6 separate regions of the Homo sapiens genome follow, and all the other regions are linked to region 6. The links are contacts of gene promoters, found by promoter capture Hi-C in blood cells and fetal thymus (Javierre and others, 2016). All regions are on one chromosome and are shown on one strand. Each heading gives the region's core, a stretch centred on a gene start or on the middle of the fragment in contact. The rest is flanking DNA. Distances are from core to core; before and after follow the strand shown. Region 1 overlaps PAX8 (paired box 8). Region 2 has its middle 11 kb from the start of IL37. Region 3 overlaps PAX8 (paired box 8). Region 4 holds the start of PAX8 (paired box 8). Region 5 overlaps PAX8 (paired box 8). Region 6 holds the start of IL1F10 (interleukin 1 family member 10).

The links. Contacts are between HindIII fragments. The CHiCAGO score rates a contact against its expected background, and 5 or more counts as called.
Region 1: a fragment that was not itself captured here is called in contact with the fragment with the promoter of IL1F10 in region 6 in 2 of 17 cell types (neutrophils and M1 macrophages); the score reaches 5.8 in neutrophils.
Region 2: a contact is called between a fragment that was not itself captured here and the fragment with the promoter of IL1F10 in region 6, in 2 of 17 cell types (M2 macrophages and M1 macrophages). The highest score is 7.1, in M2 macrophages.
Region 3: a contact is called between a fragment that was not itself captured here and the fragment with the promoter of IL1F10 in region 6, in 2 of 17 cell types (M1 macrophages and erythroblasts). The highest score is 6.4, in M1 macrophages.
Region 4: the fragment with the promoter of PAX8 here is called in contact with the fragment with the promoter of IL1F10 in region 6 in 3 of 17 cell types (M1 macrophages, erythroblasts and M2 macrophages); the score reaches 7.0 in M1 macrophages.
Region 5: a contact is called between a fragment that was not itself captured here and the fragment with the promoter of IL1F10 in region 6, in 6 of 17 cell types (erythroblasts, M1 macrophages, M2 macrophages and 3 more). The highest score is 6.7, in erythroblasts.

The regions. Positions count from the first base shown.
Region 1 is chr2:113,230,542-113,233,241 of GRCh38, reverse strand. The region is part of intron 9 of PAX8 (paired box 8); the gene reads left to right. Among named protein-coding and RNA genes, the nearest start is that of PAX8-AS1, 4.4 kb to the left of the region's middle. The HindIII fragment of the contact is 2,120 bases long and covers 387-2,506 here.
Region 2 is chr2:112,920,681-112,923,380 of GRCh38, reverse strand. No RefSeq gene overlaps it. Among named protein-coding and RNA genes, the nearest start is that of IL37, 11 kb to the right of the region's middle. The HindIII fragment of the contact is 6,002 bases long and covers 1-2,700 here.
Region 3 is chr2:113,251,506-113,254,205 of GRCh38, reverse strand. The region is part of intron 2 of PAX8 (paired box 8); the gene reads left to right. All of the region lies in intron 2 of PAX8-AS1 (PAX8 antisense RNA 1), which reads right to left. Among named protein-coding and RNA genes, the nearest start is that of PAX8-AS1, 17 kb to the right of the region's middle. The HindIII fragment of the contact is 2,655 bases long and covers 1-2,586 here.
Region 4 is chr2:113,277,671-113,280,370 of GRCh38, reverse strand. It overlaps PAX8 (paired box 8), which reads left to right and starts at 1,450. Exons shown (of 12, transcript NM_003466.4): 1 at 1,450-1,540; 2 at 1,902-2,001. The coding sequence starts at 1,977. RefSeq lists a promoter at 848-1,977. The HindIII fragment of the contact is 9,772 bases long and covers 1-2,700 here.
Region 5 is chr2:113,213,379-113,216,136 of GRCh38, reverse strand. PAX8 (paired box 8) reads left to right here. Exons shown (of 12, transcript NM_003466.4): 12 at 1-140. Among named protein-coding and RNA genes, the nearest start is that of PAX8-AS1, 22 kb to the left of the region's middle. The HindIII fragment of the contact is 5,230 bases long and covers 1-2,758 here.
Region 6 is chr2:113,066,693-113,069,392 of GRCh38, reverse strand. It overlaps IL1F10 (interleukin 1 family member 10), which reads right to left and starts at 1,423. Exons shown (of 5, transcript NM_173161.3): 1 at 1,377-1,423. The HindIII fragment of the contact is 1,248 bases long and covers 1,076-2,323 here.

The sequences.
Region 1 (2,700 bases), core at 197-2,696, 160 kb before region 6:
TAAAGCGAGGAGTTGACTTGGAGTTCAAGAATTCAAGAGGGTGAAGGCAGCAGAGATGGGTCATTTGTTTTGACCAAAGTGATGAAAAGAGCAAAACCTGTGAGCTGAGTAAAATTATGTCAGCCAGAGAAAATGGGATGCGGGGTAGGGAGGGGAATGAGAGGATAGTGGAGAGGAAGGGAGGGGAAGGGAAGGGAGGGGAGGGGAGGGGAGGGGAGGGGGTGAGGAGAAGAGGTTCATGTCAGTTACAGGGAGTTACGCAAGCCTGCATGTCTTCTGAGAATGGCAGGCTAGAGCTGGCGGCGGTCATGGGGCAGGCAAGGGGTGAGGGTGTGGTGGTGCCCATGATGATGGGGAGCAGGTGCTGTGGAAGCCGCGGAGAAGCTTGGCAAGACCAGCTGAAGGAGAGGGAAGGATGTAGGGCAGCTGGAAGTGGATAGATGTATCAGAGTGCAGACATAGGCTGTAGTGTAAAGTGCAACTGGAACAGCCCAGGGCAAACTCCCTACTCCCAAAGCCCCTACACTTTGTCCCCTCCCTGTCATCCTGTTAGCATCCCCTGTCAACATGCAGTCAATCAGAGGTGACGCCTCCAACTACTGTCAGCTGTTAATTTAGTGGACATGCCCACTCTCCAGGCCAACTGCAGGACTGAGAGGTCACCCAACCCATGGGACAAAACAGCTGGCAGCAGACACCAGGTAGTCATGTAGGAAGCAGGCAGCCAAATATGCAGCACCGGCATATCTTTCAGGCTGGTGGCCCCCAATCCAGGCCCAGATGATGCTGAAGTGCAGGTGTGAGCACTTTGAAGGTTGCTGGCTGGTCACAGGGCCCCCTAGCCCAAGGGTTGACAATTCAGCACAGAGGCAGAGGCTCTGAAAAGAGTGAGGAGTGCTAGCCTTGGAGGATCTGGGGTCCAGGCAAATGGCCAAGAGTAGGAAGCAAGTCAGAAAGCAGCTCAGGCACAAGGGAGGGGATGGCTGGTGTCCATGCTGAGCTCAGGGTGTTGGCCTGGAGCTCCTTACAGACTGTCCACCTGAGGCCTCTGGTCAAGACTGGATCTCAATACCTAACACGTGGCTGAGCCATGGTGAGAGAGCTGGGAGGACATGACGGGGGGCGGTGGGGAAGGTTAGGAAGGGAATGGTTCCAGGAGCGCAGGAGGCTGCAGACCTTCCCAAGAAGAGGTGAATTTGAAAGAAAGAGAAGGAACCTGGGCCCAATGGCTCACACCTGTAATCCCAGCACTTTGGGAGGCCAAGGTGGGTGGATCACCTGAGGTCGGGAGTTCGAGACCAGCCTGACCAACATGGAGAAACCCCATCTCTACTAAAAATACAAAATTAGCCAGGCGTGGTGGCACATGCCTGTAATCCCAGCTACTCGGGAGGCTGAGGCAGGAGAATTGCTTAAACCCAGGAGGCGGAGGTTGCGGTGAGCCGAGATCGTGCCATTGCACTCCAGCCTGGGCAACAAGAGCGAAACTCCATCTCAAAAAAGAAAAAAATAATAAAGAAAGAGAAGGAAGTTGAGGCCACATTATTCCTAAGTAATGCTGCAGACCAGGAGAGAGGAGAGAGGACACAGTGAGTTTTCATTCCATAATCAGCTCAGCTTTAACCCGCGTGAATCTTCCACATGCCTCTGAGTGACTCCCAAGGACCCTCGCTGCCGCCTCCTGCAACTCCTTCACTACTTCATAGCGTTTTTCTCTGGGTCACTTATTTCCGCCTGGTGGCTCTGATAGTGTGATTTCCAAGGTGACTATCCTTCTGAGTCTCAGCTCATCCCCAGTCAGCCAAGAAAGAAGAAACAGCAAGGTTTGGGGAATAGCAAGAGTGCCCCTAACATTGCTGCCAGTTCCCTTTGGAAGCCCCAGTCTGGAGTCCCAACACACTGGCCAAGACAGCAATGTCGAGGCCGTCCTGGTCCCAGCTGCTCTGGGACTGCCTCCAGCTCAGCTCAAAGGAAAGCCATGAGTTAGGTTTTATCATCAAAGAGTCCATTCCCCTCCTCCATCCTTTTGTACAAAATTATATTTAGTTCTGCCAAAGAGATTTCTGAGTTGCCATAAATTCTCCTTGCTATCAGAACGAGATAAGGAATTGAAAAGGGGTTACATGGAGGGCAGACTTCAAAGGGGGAAAATAAAATAGTCTGAAATCACCTCTACCCTCTGAATTCCTCCAGGCAATAGCTTTATGATTCTGGCCTCTACCAATATTTAGAATATTTACCAATATTTCAAGGTGTAGGGGGAGCTAGAGTTTTCTTAGAGAACTCCACGGCCAGTCAACATGGGCCTATGCTTTCTGTCAACTTCCTAAAATAGGACCACGTTGGAAAGAAATTTGGGTGTAGAGGAGATGGAATTCATAGCGAGGATCGTTTTATGATGAAGAGTCTTAAAAACAGAGAAGTAGGTAAGAGGGCATGGTTAGGCCGTGATGGAGTTTCCACCCCACAGCTTCTGTGGTTTTGTTTCTAAGAAGGCTTGCAAGCTTCTTGGCTTTTTGGAAGAAACTATGCATTTAAGCAATTGGAGCAAAGAGTTTTGTAGGGCTGTTGGGAGAGTTTATTGTGCCATAGTCTGGGTGAGAGCCATGCTGAAGAAAGTCTTACCAGTCTTTCCAGGAAGACCAGCTTTCATGGCAGGAAGCCTCAGGCGTCTGTTCTGATGTCCGATTCAGAAGCCTC
Region 2 (2,700 bases), core at 181-2,680, 150 kb after region 6:
TCTATATATCCTGCCACATGCTCTGTTGTTACAGAACAAAGAAGGCCATAGACAGCATGGCTGTGTTGGCAAATACACAAAACAGGCAATAAGCTGTATTTGGCCTTTAGGCTGCAGTTTGCCAACCCTTGCACTAACACAAGGAGCTTAAAGGTAGCGGTGGTGCTGTGCTGGAGCTAGCTTATATCAGCTTGCAATAGCCAATTGCTAACATCTCTTCCAAACTCTGTGTCTGTGCCTTCATGTTGGTAGTTTGAAATTGGCCATATTTGGAGTAGTTATGCCATGGAAATTGGCAAAAGCTGTATATCCACCATCACCAGCCCCCTGTGAACCAGCTGATCACATCACTAGGCATGTGTCCACCAGGATGAGAGTGAGGGTTGGGGATGGTTGAGCCAGACAGTGCATGGGAATGTGGGAAGAAAATATTAGATGTCAGACCCTGTTTTATTTAGCCCTTGTAAATTTTTGAATTCTGTGTAAGTTTCATAATGTCCCAATGCCTGCACTTCAAGATGTGTTCTAGAGTTTGTTTAATTGATTAGGATAACTGGGACCAAAAAAATGTTTGGAGTCTACCACTCCTAAAGCGATTTATTATATCCTATGCTGGATAGCTCATTCATGAACAGAGTGCCGGGTGAATAAGGGTCTTCTCTTTCTACACCCGAGACAGCCTTCTTCTTGTCCCCACCTGCCTCACCCTGCCCCAGGACCTCGGATGGGGTAGGAGGAGTGACCAGCTGTGAAAGGAGCTTCTGGTTGGAATGTTTCCTATGGGAGTTTCTGTCACAGATTAAATGCCCTGAGATCACCTTTTGAGAGACATTAAATTTCATGGGATGAACAGTTATCATGTTGGGTATTATGAGTTGAATTATGTCCCCCAAAAAGATATGTTGAGGTCCTATCCCCCAGTAGCTGTGAATGTGACCTTACTTGGAAATAAGGTCTTTACAGATACAGTTCAACTTAAGATGAAGTCATTCGAGTGAGCCCTAATTCAGTATGACTCTGTCCTTATAGGACAATCTGGACACAGAAACACAGAGAGAAGACAGTCATGTGAAGATGGGGGCAGAGACTGGAGTTTTGCTGCCACCAGCCAAGGAACCCTGGAGCTACCACAAACTGAAGGGAGGCCTGGAACAGATTCTCTCTCAGAGCTCTCAGAATGAACCAACACCTGGAGTTCAGACTTTGGCCTCCTGAACCAGGAGACGATACATTTCTGTTGTTTTAAGCCACCCAGTTTATGGTTCTCTATGGGAGCTCTAACAAACCAATACTTTGGGATTCTCAGGTGTGAGGCATAAGGGCCAAAACTTTTTCACTAAACATAAAGACCAATGATTACAATTACAGTTAGGAAAATGAAATTCAAAACCACCTGAGTTTATTTATACACATTTTCCAAAATGCATCTCCTTTGCAAGGGAAGTCATATTACTATAGAAATATGGAGAAGGCCATCATTTAAATAGAAGGCTTCCTTTCCTTTCTCCCTCCCTCTCTTTTTTCTTCCTTTCTTCATTTATAAAAATCTTATGGAGTTCCTACAAGTGCCAAGCACTGCAGTGGGTTCTTGGGATACATCACAGAGCAAAGAACTTGTGGGACATACATGCTAGTGGAAGACACAAACAATAAATGTAAGAAGAAAACTATACAGCATGTTAGAGTGAGAAAAATAAGACAGGGCAAAGGGGAGTCAGTAGTGCTGGGGTGAGAAAAGATTGCAGCATTAAATGGGGTAGCCAATTTCAAACTATCAACATCAAGGCACAGACACAGAGTTTGGAAGAGATGTTAGCAATTGGCTATTGCAAGCTGATATAAGCTAGCTCCAGCACACCACCACCACCTTTAAGCTCTGTGTTAGTGCAGGGGTTGGCAAACTGCAGCCTAAAGGCCAAATACAGCTTATTGCCTGTTTTGTGTATTTGCCAACACAGCCATGCTGTCTATGGCCTTCTTTGTTCTGTAACAACAGAGCATGTGGCAGGATATATAGAATCTGGCACTCTATGAAAAGTGCTGACTCCTGCTCTACAGGAGAAGAGACCACAGATTGACTTCAGCTTCCAAATACTCATCCCGGAGTCAGTCTAGAGCCTGAAATTTAGAGCCTGAAGCACAGTTTCCACCAGAGGGCTGCAATGCATGATAGTTGGGGTTTTTCACCTCTCACCCAAAAGCCTACTCAATGCGATCACCACAACCATGCCTTTCATGAAGTCAACAACAAACAGGGCCTTGTGCTTCCGTAAGGTGTTGATGCACTTGCTGTCTTGGTGGAGCCTCACAGGAAGCATGAGTGACCCATGTCATAGTGACTCACTATATCTCATCAGGTTGGAAGGGGATGGAGCAGGACCAAGCCCAGGCTGTCTGTGTCTCCATTTGGCCTGCATGTTCGGCCTCCTCAAGGCCATGGTCAGTAAGCCCCATCTCCTTTCTGCTAGTCTGTAAGGGAACCAGAGTCCTCACTGCCATGAGACAGCCCCGGCTCAGAGACTAATTTGAACAGCTGTGTCTTTGTTGTGAAAATAGTTTTGTGATATTATGAAGAAGACATGCCTTCCTCTCCAAAATATGGATGTCACCTGGCCACATTTTTTTTTCTTTTATATAGTGATACATAATATTTCACATATTTATGGCATACATGCAAGTACTCATTACATGCACGGAATG
Region 3 (2,700 bases), core at 10-2,509, 180 kb before region 6:
AATACATGTAGAATGGATAAATGAATGCAGGAATATTTGAATGCTGGGGACAGACAGGAAGGTATTGGTTAGGTAAATATTTAGGAGGTAAAACGTGGTCTTGTGAGTATTCCATATGCAGAGAATGGAAAAAGATAAAGGCTATTAGTTGATTCATGTGACATGTTTACTGAACACCTAATATAATTTAATAATGATCAAAACGAAAGAAGTCTTCCCCTCATGGAGCTTTCTATCTGGTGATAGAAGACAGTTATGATTCATACATATATAGTTATGCAAAAAATGTAAAATTAAAATTTGGACCTAAAGATGCAATTAAATTTATCTATGATACCTCCCCAGTCCCCCCAAAATTCCTCCCTTGACTATGAGACTTTTTCTTCCCCTCACTTTCAACCAGATTCCAAACAGCAGTTATATTTGATGCTACCTTTCTATGACAGCCATTCAAGAAAGGTAAAGCATGTTATTAGAACACCCAAACAGAAGCCTGAACCTACTCTGCAGGATAAAGCAAAGCCACCGAGGAAGTGACTCAGTGCTGAAATATAAAGGATGAGCAGGAGTTAACTAGATACGACAGGGAGACAAGAGCTCCAGGAGGAGGGAACAGCATGTGCAAGTGCCCCAAGGCTGGGGACACACTGTTACTTCCAAGGTTGTGCAGAAGACCGATGACAGTGCGGTGCAGAGAGTGTGGTGGCAGGTGGCAGGAGGTTGAGTGGAAGGGGCAGGCCCTGAGCTTGCATGACAGCTGGTATTGTTACCAACCAAGACAACACTAGAGGAGGAGCCCCCTTATCACCTAAGAGGAAATCTCCAATAGAAATTGAAAACAAAAGTTGGGGGAAGGACCTGACTGGGGTTACCTGGGATGCCCATGATGCCATCATGAGATGGGTAGTAGGTATGACAATAAGGGTGTGTAGGATCACCAAGGATGGCCTTGAAGGGGGAGAGAAACACTGAGAACTAAGAGAAGCCTGAAGGGAGAAAACATATGTCATGGAGCAAATAAGGGAACAGAACCCCATTAAAGCAAAGCAAAAAGCCTAGACTGAAGGTATAAGGAATCAGGAGATGGGATTGTCACTAAAATCTCTTCAAGAGGGAGAACATGGCACCCTCCAACCACTCACTGTCCATCCATGGCCACTCATCACCAAGCACATGCTAAGCAGGAGGCACAGAGCAGGCTGAGCACCGAATGTGAAGGGAGGAATGGGCTGCAAGTATAGCTGCTTTTTGAGAAATTTAGTTGAAAACAATAGGAAAGAAGAGTATCATGGTCAAGGGAAGAATTTTTTTTGTTTAATGTATTTTGAGGTCAGGGGGTGGAGAGGCAACATAGATTAATTTAATTCCATTTGTACGTTTAGGGGAAGGACCTGGTATAAAAGAAGAGGTAAGTAATGTTTTTAAATGGGAGGATAATTGACGGAGTAGGATTCCAGCACAGGTAGAAGGGCAAGAGATCAATGAGAAACACAAGCCGCAGCTTTGCCTAGCTGCTGTCTTTCGGCTACAGTTTCCCTTAGGAAGACAAGTGTAAGGCACAGAGGTAACCAAGGGTCATGCAGCAAGTTGGGGGTAACAGCAGATGCAGGATGCTGCTTTCCAGCATGCCAGCCTCTTTTACCCAGTCCAAGGGTCTCATGTGTCCAGGTAACCCATAACCTCATGTGTGCTGGCATGATCCAGTGTGCAGACTTTGGACACTGGGATTCCATGGCCCTGGGACACTTTCTTCAGGAGCAGTTGGAGGCACAGACCCTGGCCTTTACTCCAGAAAGGCACCAAGCCAAGAGGATTAGCTGGGAGGTGGCACATGGAGATCACAGACCTGCAAGTGAGCAGCTGGGGAAGGCAACAACACCAAGCTGAGAATGCCAGGGACTGATTCGCATGGACAAGGCCTTTCCTTTGTGGAAGGCGTATAGGCCTGGCATGATTTGAAAGGCACCCAAAGAGGCCACTGCACCTCTCACTATAGCCCTGCCAAGGCTCAGCTATCACCTTGACACTCTATGGGACTAAAGCAAAAAGCCCCAGATAGTTAAGTGGAAATTTTTGCAGAACACCACATTGAGCCATTGCCACTTTAGGACTGGGCAGAGCCGCAAAAGATAAAGCAAAAGGATAAAGAGGAAAGTACTGAAGCATGGGATTTGGGGGTCCCACCATGCAGAATCATGGGAATCCATGCAACAACCATAACCAATGTAAACCATTTTTCTATCACTTGTATATAAGAAAACACTAATTACAGTAGACAAAGACAGGGCCCCTGCCTTTGAGTAACTCATAAAGAAACTCAAATAGAGAAAGTTACTGTTCAATGCAGTCAGTGCTATGATAGGAATTTGTGCAAAGGACTATAGGAACATGGAGAAAGGATTTCCACATCTTAAGGGTTTGGATATTGGTGCATATAACAAGAATTTTGGTCAATAAGTGTCTCTGTTTTCTTTCTGCCATCCCAACTACTCAGAGCTCTATAAAGGATGAAGAAATTACCAACAAAGTCCTAAGACCTCCCTGAATGGTCACTTTTCAAAAGGATATGTTTCTGGACAGCAAGCTTCACCTAGACCTTTGCTGAGCTCCAATCCCTTTACTGTACGATAAGTCCTCTCTGACCCCAGGAAAGCTTGCATTTCCCGTCTGAGTACCTTTCACTCAGGAACCTGCTTGCAT
Region 4 (2,700 bases), core at 201-2,700, 210 kb before region 6:
GTGGAGGAAACATGTAGGGATACACATCTTCTTCTCTCTTTTTTCACAAGATGATTCATTTCTCCTAAATTGAGAAATGAGAAAGACTGGGTGGAAGGAGGTTGTGGATTGACATGAAAGAGAAAACTTTTTTAATTCAGAAAAATAGTTCATGTGTTTTCACACACGTGTACATATGTGCATACACACACACACACACACACACACACACACATCCAATCCCCCTGAATATCCCAGTTTCCCCTGCACCTTCCTTGCCCCCCTCCCACTGGCTTCTTAGCCTCCTGTCCCAGAACAACCCCACCAGGCCTGCAGAGCCATCACTGAAAAGGGCATGGCTGTCCTCTAGACTGTAATCCTGAGTCCAGAGGTCTGGCCAAAGATTGGAGGAGCATCCAGGCCTTGACCCCCAGGCCTGCCAGTGTTCCAGGACATTTGCTCACTCATACCCACTCACAATCTTACGTGTACCCCGGTTCCCCGACTGAGAGAACTATGAGGAAGGAGGGGGCAGCTTTTGCCATCACTAAGGTAAAGAGGTGCCAGGCAGCTCTGCTCGGTCCCAGGGCTCACCAACCCTGCCATCATTCCCACCAGTGGACCCCTTCTTAACCACACCCAGGCCCCCATATTGCTGAGGCTATTGATTCCTACAGACCAGGCCAGAGGTCAGCTCAGTCCTGTTCCTTTCTAAGGCCTTTCCACACAGAGATGAAGTCTAGGCCCTCAATGCCCTTCCCCTGAACTCTTCTTCCAAGTTCAAAATCCTCAAGGAGCAAGAAAGAGGGCAGGTGGCTGCGTGTGTGTTCCAGAGGAGAGAGGCGAGGAGTTGCTGTGGAATGGGTTATGTGACAATTTTGTTAGCCTGACAATGCAAGGGTGTGAACGCTATCTGTGTAGAACAGAGGGAATGGCTTCAGGTGCTGCTCAGGATTCTTCCCTGGAAGAGGTCATAGCTGTGGTGAGAAGGTAATAGCATCTTGCCTACAGCCCCGAAAGCAGGCTCTACCTAAAGAATCAGGCATAAAACAGAAGTTCCCTCCTTCCTTTTACAAAAGAAAAGGCTGCTTCCTGGTGAGCAAACCAGGGGAGACAGGGGGCAAGGAGGGCATCCTACAGAGACCATCCCTCTCACTTCTGGTGGTCAGTGACCCAGGAGGACCCAGAGAACCTCATCCTCAGGCTCCTAGGCCTCTGTTCCCCACTCCTCCAATATTTCCAGGCCTGCTGAGTTAGGGCTCAGCTGCCTCCCTCTTCCCTCCGCTGGAAACAGAAGCTCCCAGCGAATGTTTCTAACTCCTGAGTCCACTCAGCCATGTCCCCCTTGCAAAATCCTCCCCTTCCCGCACCCCCCTGCACCCAGCCAGCCAATCCGCGGCCTACGAGCCTCGCCAGACCCATCTCCCAGGGCCTCAGCGGGATAAAACCGGTCGGTGATGCCGGGTGGATGGGAACAAACTTCAGAAGGAGGAGAGACACCGGGCCCAGGGCACCCTCGCGGGCGGACCCAAGCAGTGAGGGCCTGCAGCCGGCCGGCCAGGTATGTCACCCAGGGGTTAGCTGGAAGCTGGCTAGCAGTGAGGACGGGGGATGGAAGAAAGGAGAGGGTCCCAGGATGCCTGGCAGCCTTTTCCCTCCCAAGTTAAACGGGATAAGACTGGGACAGCGGAGGGAGTGGGCACGGAGGTTGGAGTCTGGAGCTTCTTCAGCGCACTCCCAATCCTTGATCCTCCCGGGAAGCCTGTTAGCTAGGCTAGGCTGAGGTTGGCCCTACTTCGCCTAAAAATCCTCCTACTCCTGGCAGACGATGCAGGTGTAAAGGATGAGGCCTGGGGAGGGGGCCTGAGGATGCAGGCATCGAATCTCATCGCATCTCATGCCCTTCTCCTGGGTTTGTGCAGGGCAGCGGCAGGCGCGGCCCGGACCTACGGGAGGAAGCCCCGAGCCCTCGGCGGGCTGCGAGCGACTCCCCGGCGATGCCTCACAACTCCATCAGATCTGGTAAGAACGCGGTGTGGTCAGGATCCCCGAGCCCCCGCGCCGCTGAGCGTCCGTGCGTGCGCTCGGGTGGTTGGATCTCGAGAGCGTCAGCACGGGATTCGCGGGACCCACCCGCGTGGGGACCCAGCTGGGGCGCCTGGGGCCTGGCCCTCCGCTGGAGCCGCCTCGCTGTTCTCGGGCACTGGGGTTCCACCCGGCCAGCTGAGCCGCCCTTGCCCGGTTTCGAGGGACCACATGGATCGGTGAGGGGATCTCTGTGGAGTTAGAGGGGGTTTCCTTTGAGCTCCATTCCCAGCCTTGCATGGCGCATTAGTGTGGACATTCTTCGTGCTCTGTCCCTGGGCTGCACCGGTGCTGGACTTGCCGTTTCCCCGTCCCCGACCTCTAAGTCCTCTTCCTCGGGTGCGCGCAGTCCTTCCCAGTGACTCCCCTGGCTGGACTGTGAGCTCCCCGCATCTCTCAAGCCAACGGCAATGGAGCCGGTGGTCCCGGGCCCGGGAGCCGGCAGCGCACTCAGGTGCTCTCCGACTCCTCCTGGCCCAGCACCGGGCAGGCCGGGCGCCGCGCGCGGGGCGTCCGGCTGGTGAGGACTAAGCCGCTCGCGGAGTCAAAACCCCCTCCCCACCTGCGCCCGGAAGCAGGGCCTTCAAACACACTCGAGCTCCCAGGCCGCGATGCCTGTTTTCCCCCTTCCCGGCC
Region 5 (2,758 bases), core at 1-2,500, 150 kb before region 6:
AGCACAGCATCCCAAGGAGCCCATAGAGCGATCCCTTGCATTCACAGCCACAGCCCCTCTGGGGACACTCTGTACCCCCGGCAGACCCTTTCCAACTCACAACCAATAAAGGGGCTTGGGCTGTGCTTTGACTAAGGTGACCATGGTTTAAAACTCGCCTTTCTTTCCCGGAGGTGAGCTGGGCTTGCCAGGAGCCTCTGCTCAGAGCGGGTGTTTGTTGACTGTGGGATGTGTTCCCCATGTAACAGGCCTTGGCTAGTACCCATCCAATATTCTGCCCATGGTCAAACCATGGGTCCCCTTTTCGGGCTCAGAAAATAAGGCCATTTATGTATCGGGCGAAAGAAAGACAATTCGACGTGCCCCGGCATTTGGGGTGGTGTTGGGAGGAGTCAGGCTGGCACATGGGGGGACGCAATGAAGAAAGGTGGGATGGCAAGGACAGGGAGGACACGCAGGGGGCTTTGAGGGTTGGCCGAGGGGCCACTTTCACCTGGGGTAGGGAGGGCGGCTTCTGTGAGTGGTCGCAGGTGAAGGGGGGTCGCTTTATGGTGCAGGGGAGCCAGGGGTTCTCTGGGGGTGGTATGTGTGTTTGTAGGAGAATTGGGGATGAGGATGGGCCCAAAACATTGCTGAGGCATTGAGAGCACTGAGGGCCTATCCCTTCCCCCTGGAATAATCCCTTTCACTGCTCATGTAGAGAGACCACCTGAGCTTCCCAGGCAGTTTACTCTTAACTTCTCCCTGGTCCATTACCCTCACTCCTCTTCATCCTCAGGTTCTAGCACAGGCCAGGCCAGCCCAGGGTGCTAGGAGCTTGCAGGAAATTCATGTGGACCAACCAACTCTGGCAGGTCAGTGGGTTTCTTGCTGGGAAAGGGGGCAGCTGGAACCCTGCCTGGGGCCCACCAGATGAACAGAATTGCTGTGACCCCGTAACCTCTACCACAAAGTTCCAGGACTAGAGACAGCGGAACTGGGAGTCCTCACCTACAAAGCCAGCCCCCAGGCTAGTTCCAACCCCTCCCCTTGTCACATCATCTCTTACTTCTCCAATATCCTTGCCATGAGTTGTGAGACTAAGAAACATGTATCTTCTGCCCTCTGTGTGCCAAACACACACTCAAAAACACACACTCAACCCTGGTGACAACTTCAGGCAAGAGGAGTTAGTGAAACCTACTGGAAGTGGAAGCAGGAGCCTCCAAATAGAAACAGAAAGACAGACAGGTTGAGGCTGTTGCTAAGATCTCCCCTCTCCCACCTGCCCTCACCATCCTCCCACTTCCACCACCCAAAATACACACACCTTTCCCATCCATACCAACATGAGGCTTCCTGGCCAGGCACTGTGGCTCACGCCTGTAATCCTAGCACTTTGGGAGGCTGAGGCGGGTGGATCATGAGGTCAGGAGTTTGAGACCAGCCTGGCCAACATGGTGAAACCCCGTCTCTACTAAAAACACAAAAATTAGCCAGGCATGTTGGCGCATGCCTGTAATCCCAGCTACTCAAGAGGCTGAGGCAGGAGAATCACTTGAACCCTGGAGACGGAGGTTGCAGTGAGCTGAGATCGCACCACTGCACTCTAGCCTGGGTGACAGAGCAAAACTCTATCTCAAAAAAAAACAAAAACAAAACAAAAACCCATGAGCCTTCTTTAAGATAATTCACACTTCCTTGTCCTCTGGGGGTGGGCACCAGAGGAAGGGGACTGCAGACCTCAACGCCATTACTACTGGGCCTGGGCGTCAGCATCAGTCCTGTCAATCAGGACTGAGGGAGGCCGCGGGGAGGGAGGGATTGAGCTCCCTCCTAGGCAGCTCCTGCACCCACAGCTTAACAGCATCTCTGTCCTGCCTCAGCCTCAGAAGTGGTAATAACCCTCTCCACAGGCTTAGTTTCTTTTTCCATACAAAGCCCATTCACATCCATTTACATCTCTGATTCTGAATATTGGCCCCCTTTTATTTTGCACTTGGGGAATCTGAGACCAAGAGATAACTTGACTTTTTCAAGGTCATTCAGCGAGTCAGCAGAGGAGCAGGGACCACAGCCTTACCCCTAATCCAAGGCCTAGTCTGCATCCTATTGTCAGGCCTCAGATATCTGGATATGGCCAGGCTTCTGAGAGATGTCAGACACTCTTTGCTTTGCAGGGAGGGGCGGCAGAAGTCACTTGGCCAGTTGGGGCACAGTGACTTCTGCTGCCCCTCCCTGCAAAGCGTGACTGGACGCAAGGCCCAGAGCTCAACTGAAGAAGCACTGGGACCAGGCAGATTTGTGCCAGGCTGATCTCAGACTTCCCTCCATCCTTGGCCCTAAATCTCCCTTCAGGGTGCCCTTTGGCAGCCCCTCTCTAACCTTTAAGGTCATAAAGCCTTCCATGTTCCATAAAGGAGCTGGTGGCTCCTCTGCCCCAGGCTGCTGTGCTACCTTCTGACGCCAAGTGACCGAGCCGCCATGGCTATGGTTCTCATGGAAGAAACTCCCTCTCTCTCACCTCTATCTCCTTCCTTTGTTCACTTCTTCTAGTTTTCTAGTTTTTTTCCTTTTCTACTGAGTCTACAGCAATTATTCCTTTCCCGACTGTTTGAGAGACATTCGTGTCTCCAGGGCTATGAATGAGGGAAAGAGACAGGGAATGTTTGGGGAGAGCTCGGAGTCCCTGACCTCCTCAGGAAATGCCAGGAAGCATCCTTCCTCCCTCTCTCCAGTGCCCTCTCACTATCACCTTCTCCCCATCACCCTCTCCCCT
Region 6 (2,700 bases), core at 174-2,673:
TACTACTGTACTTGTATTCCCGGTTTTTCTGCCTTTCATTCATTCCAACCTATGTGAGGAATGTGGACCCACGTTCTAAAGATTTTTTTCACCACATCCCTGCCCAGCTCTAGAATCTACAGTGACTGACTGTTTTGTCACCGTCTGGCACTGATTTTCTTGTGTGATAGCATCTCACTTCTCCATGGACACTAAACCACACCTCCTGGCGACATAATTCCTTTCTTATCTTCTCAGTGGACGTACTCACAGGTGTCCCATTGTTCTCCCTGCCTCAAAAGTCATCCCTTCTCATTGTCATCCATTCAGATCTTTTGATATTAAGATCACTGGAGATAGTATCAGTATAGATGGGTTCAGTATCTAGTTCTATCAAATTAATTACCAGTGTAGAGTTACAGCTTAGACATACAGGGTTATGTCTTTTAACCTCCAACCCTCAGTTTCAGCACTATACATTCATGGGATTAGATTATGTGGTTATGAAGGTTCTTTCTAGGCCAAACTATTTATAATTCCATGACTCAGAGTTTAATGAATCTTTCCCTTACTATTGTAACTCTACTCTGAACTCCTATTAAATTTTACTGTATTATTTATTGTTGTACATAAAGATATTTGTTTCCCTTATAAAAGTTTATAAGATCTTGAAGTCATGAAGCATGGCTTACAGCTCACTTGAAGCTCTCTCCAACCACCCTAATTGAACTACCCTGGTCCTTGTGGCCAGGACATAGAAACACACAGAGCAGACTTTGAATAGAAAGGCTGAGTCCTAGACCTAGCTCTGCTACCAATTTATTTTGCCACCTTTTATCCCTGGGCCTTCAACTTATCAACATTGGATGGAAAGATTGAGTAAGGTATCTTTCAAAACTGTTTTAAGTTTCACAATAAAATTTTATGCAGAATTCTAATGATTGTAAAAAGGATAAAGGGCAGCTGCTTTGCTGACACAGGAAGCAATGGAGACTTTGGAACCCTGCTAGTATTTCTCTTGCCTACAAAGAAGACACTGAGGAGCTACCAAGGAGCACAAAAAAAAAAAAAACGAAAACAAAAAATCTCTTAAGCTTCCACCAAACACGGTTTGAATACCATTGGCCCAGATGGTTTCTTTTGAGATTACTTTCTAAAGTCAGTTGTTCTAAGTAGTTCAGAAATCTTGATTTGGCTTAACCTATTCCTTCTCCTCAAATCTCTTTATGTGCTCCTAAATGTTTTTGATGTCCCATCATGTCATATGAGGGGACTACCTTGTTACCTAGACAGCTTGCCAGGAGGAGTGAAGGGATAGAGGGCATACCAGAGATATTGACAGGAGAGAGTAGAAAAGAAAGAAAAGAGAGAGAGAATATTGCCTGTCCATCACTGACCTGCAGATCCTGAGTTCCTGGAACCCTGATCCCTGGAGACTCCAACTGATTTCTCCAGGGCATTGCGCTGTGTTTATACCGTCTGGTACAGGTGGGTCAGGCCTGCACCAATCTCTATAATTGGCTGCAGGACATGAAGGAAGAAGAGCCTGGGCATTTCACAATGTCTTTGGTACAGCATGAATAATAAGATGGTGGGAACATTAAGGAGCATTTGTTGAAGGGGGAGAGAGTCATCCATAAAGCCTTGGCAGAAATAAGGTATGGGGCCCCTGCTCTGTACTGACTGTCGTTGACTATGTTATTAGTGGGTTTGCAGCCAGATAAACAGTGCTGGGGTCAGACATCTTTGGTGCCCCGTGGGGCTCCATCCTAGGCTTGAAGAGGTGGTGAATACAAGAGAAAGTATGTCTGGCAAGCCCAAGGACAGAACAAATTCTGATGCCGGAATCCAGGCTGTGGCCAGACAGCCAGAATAAGAGAAGGGGCTGATAGCACTGTGAGTGTGACTCTGTTTGGAAAGACGAGAAGGGAGTCTCTGCTTTTCAGTGGGTTTAATTAGTTGGTACCAGCTTGATGGGACAGAACATCTAGGGAAACCCAACTGCAAAGATATTGACCTCAGATTCACCCTGAGACTGAGCAGACATCATGTGCCATGGACTGCTAGGAAATATGATAGTGTGAGTAGAGCACAGAGGAAAGAACACTCAGGTCTCTAATTGACATTACTTGACTCAGTCCATCCATCCATCCATCCACCCGGCCACCCATCTGTCCATCTATCTACCCATCTGTCCATTCTTCCATCCATCCATCATCCATCCAACCATCCATCCACCCATGTGCCCATCCATCCACCCTTCTGTCCACCCTTTCATCCATCCATTCATCCATCCATCCATCCATCCATCCATCCATCCCTCCATTACAAGCGTGGAGAAGCTTAGGTGTAATGTTCTCTGGAAACTAACAACCTTATTATAATTCTCCCTCTTTGGTCATTTGCAAAGTTCCACCAAGGGCTTCTTGAGGAAGTGGGATAGGTGGGTCTAAGACTCAGATGCCTGCAGGATGAGAAATGAGAAAAGATGGGCAGAAATGGGACCAGATTTCTGCTTTCTAAGGCCAGTGATCATTCTTCTTCCACTCTCCCAATCTCTCACCCTTCTATGGGAAGGCTTAAAGCATGAGTTACTATGTCAGGCAACCAATGAGTGTTTACCCAGCATTTACACTGCTGTGTGACACAGACATTCAATACACAGTCCTTGTTGTTAAGTAGTTTCACAGTCTAGCTGAGGAACTAAGTCATAAACACTTG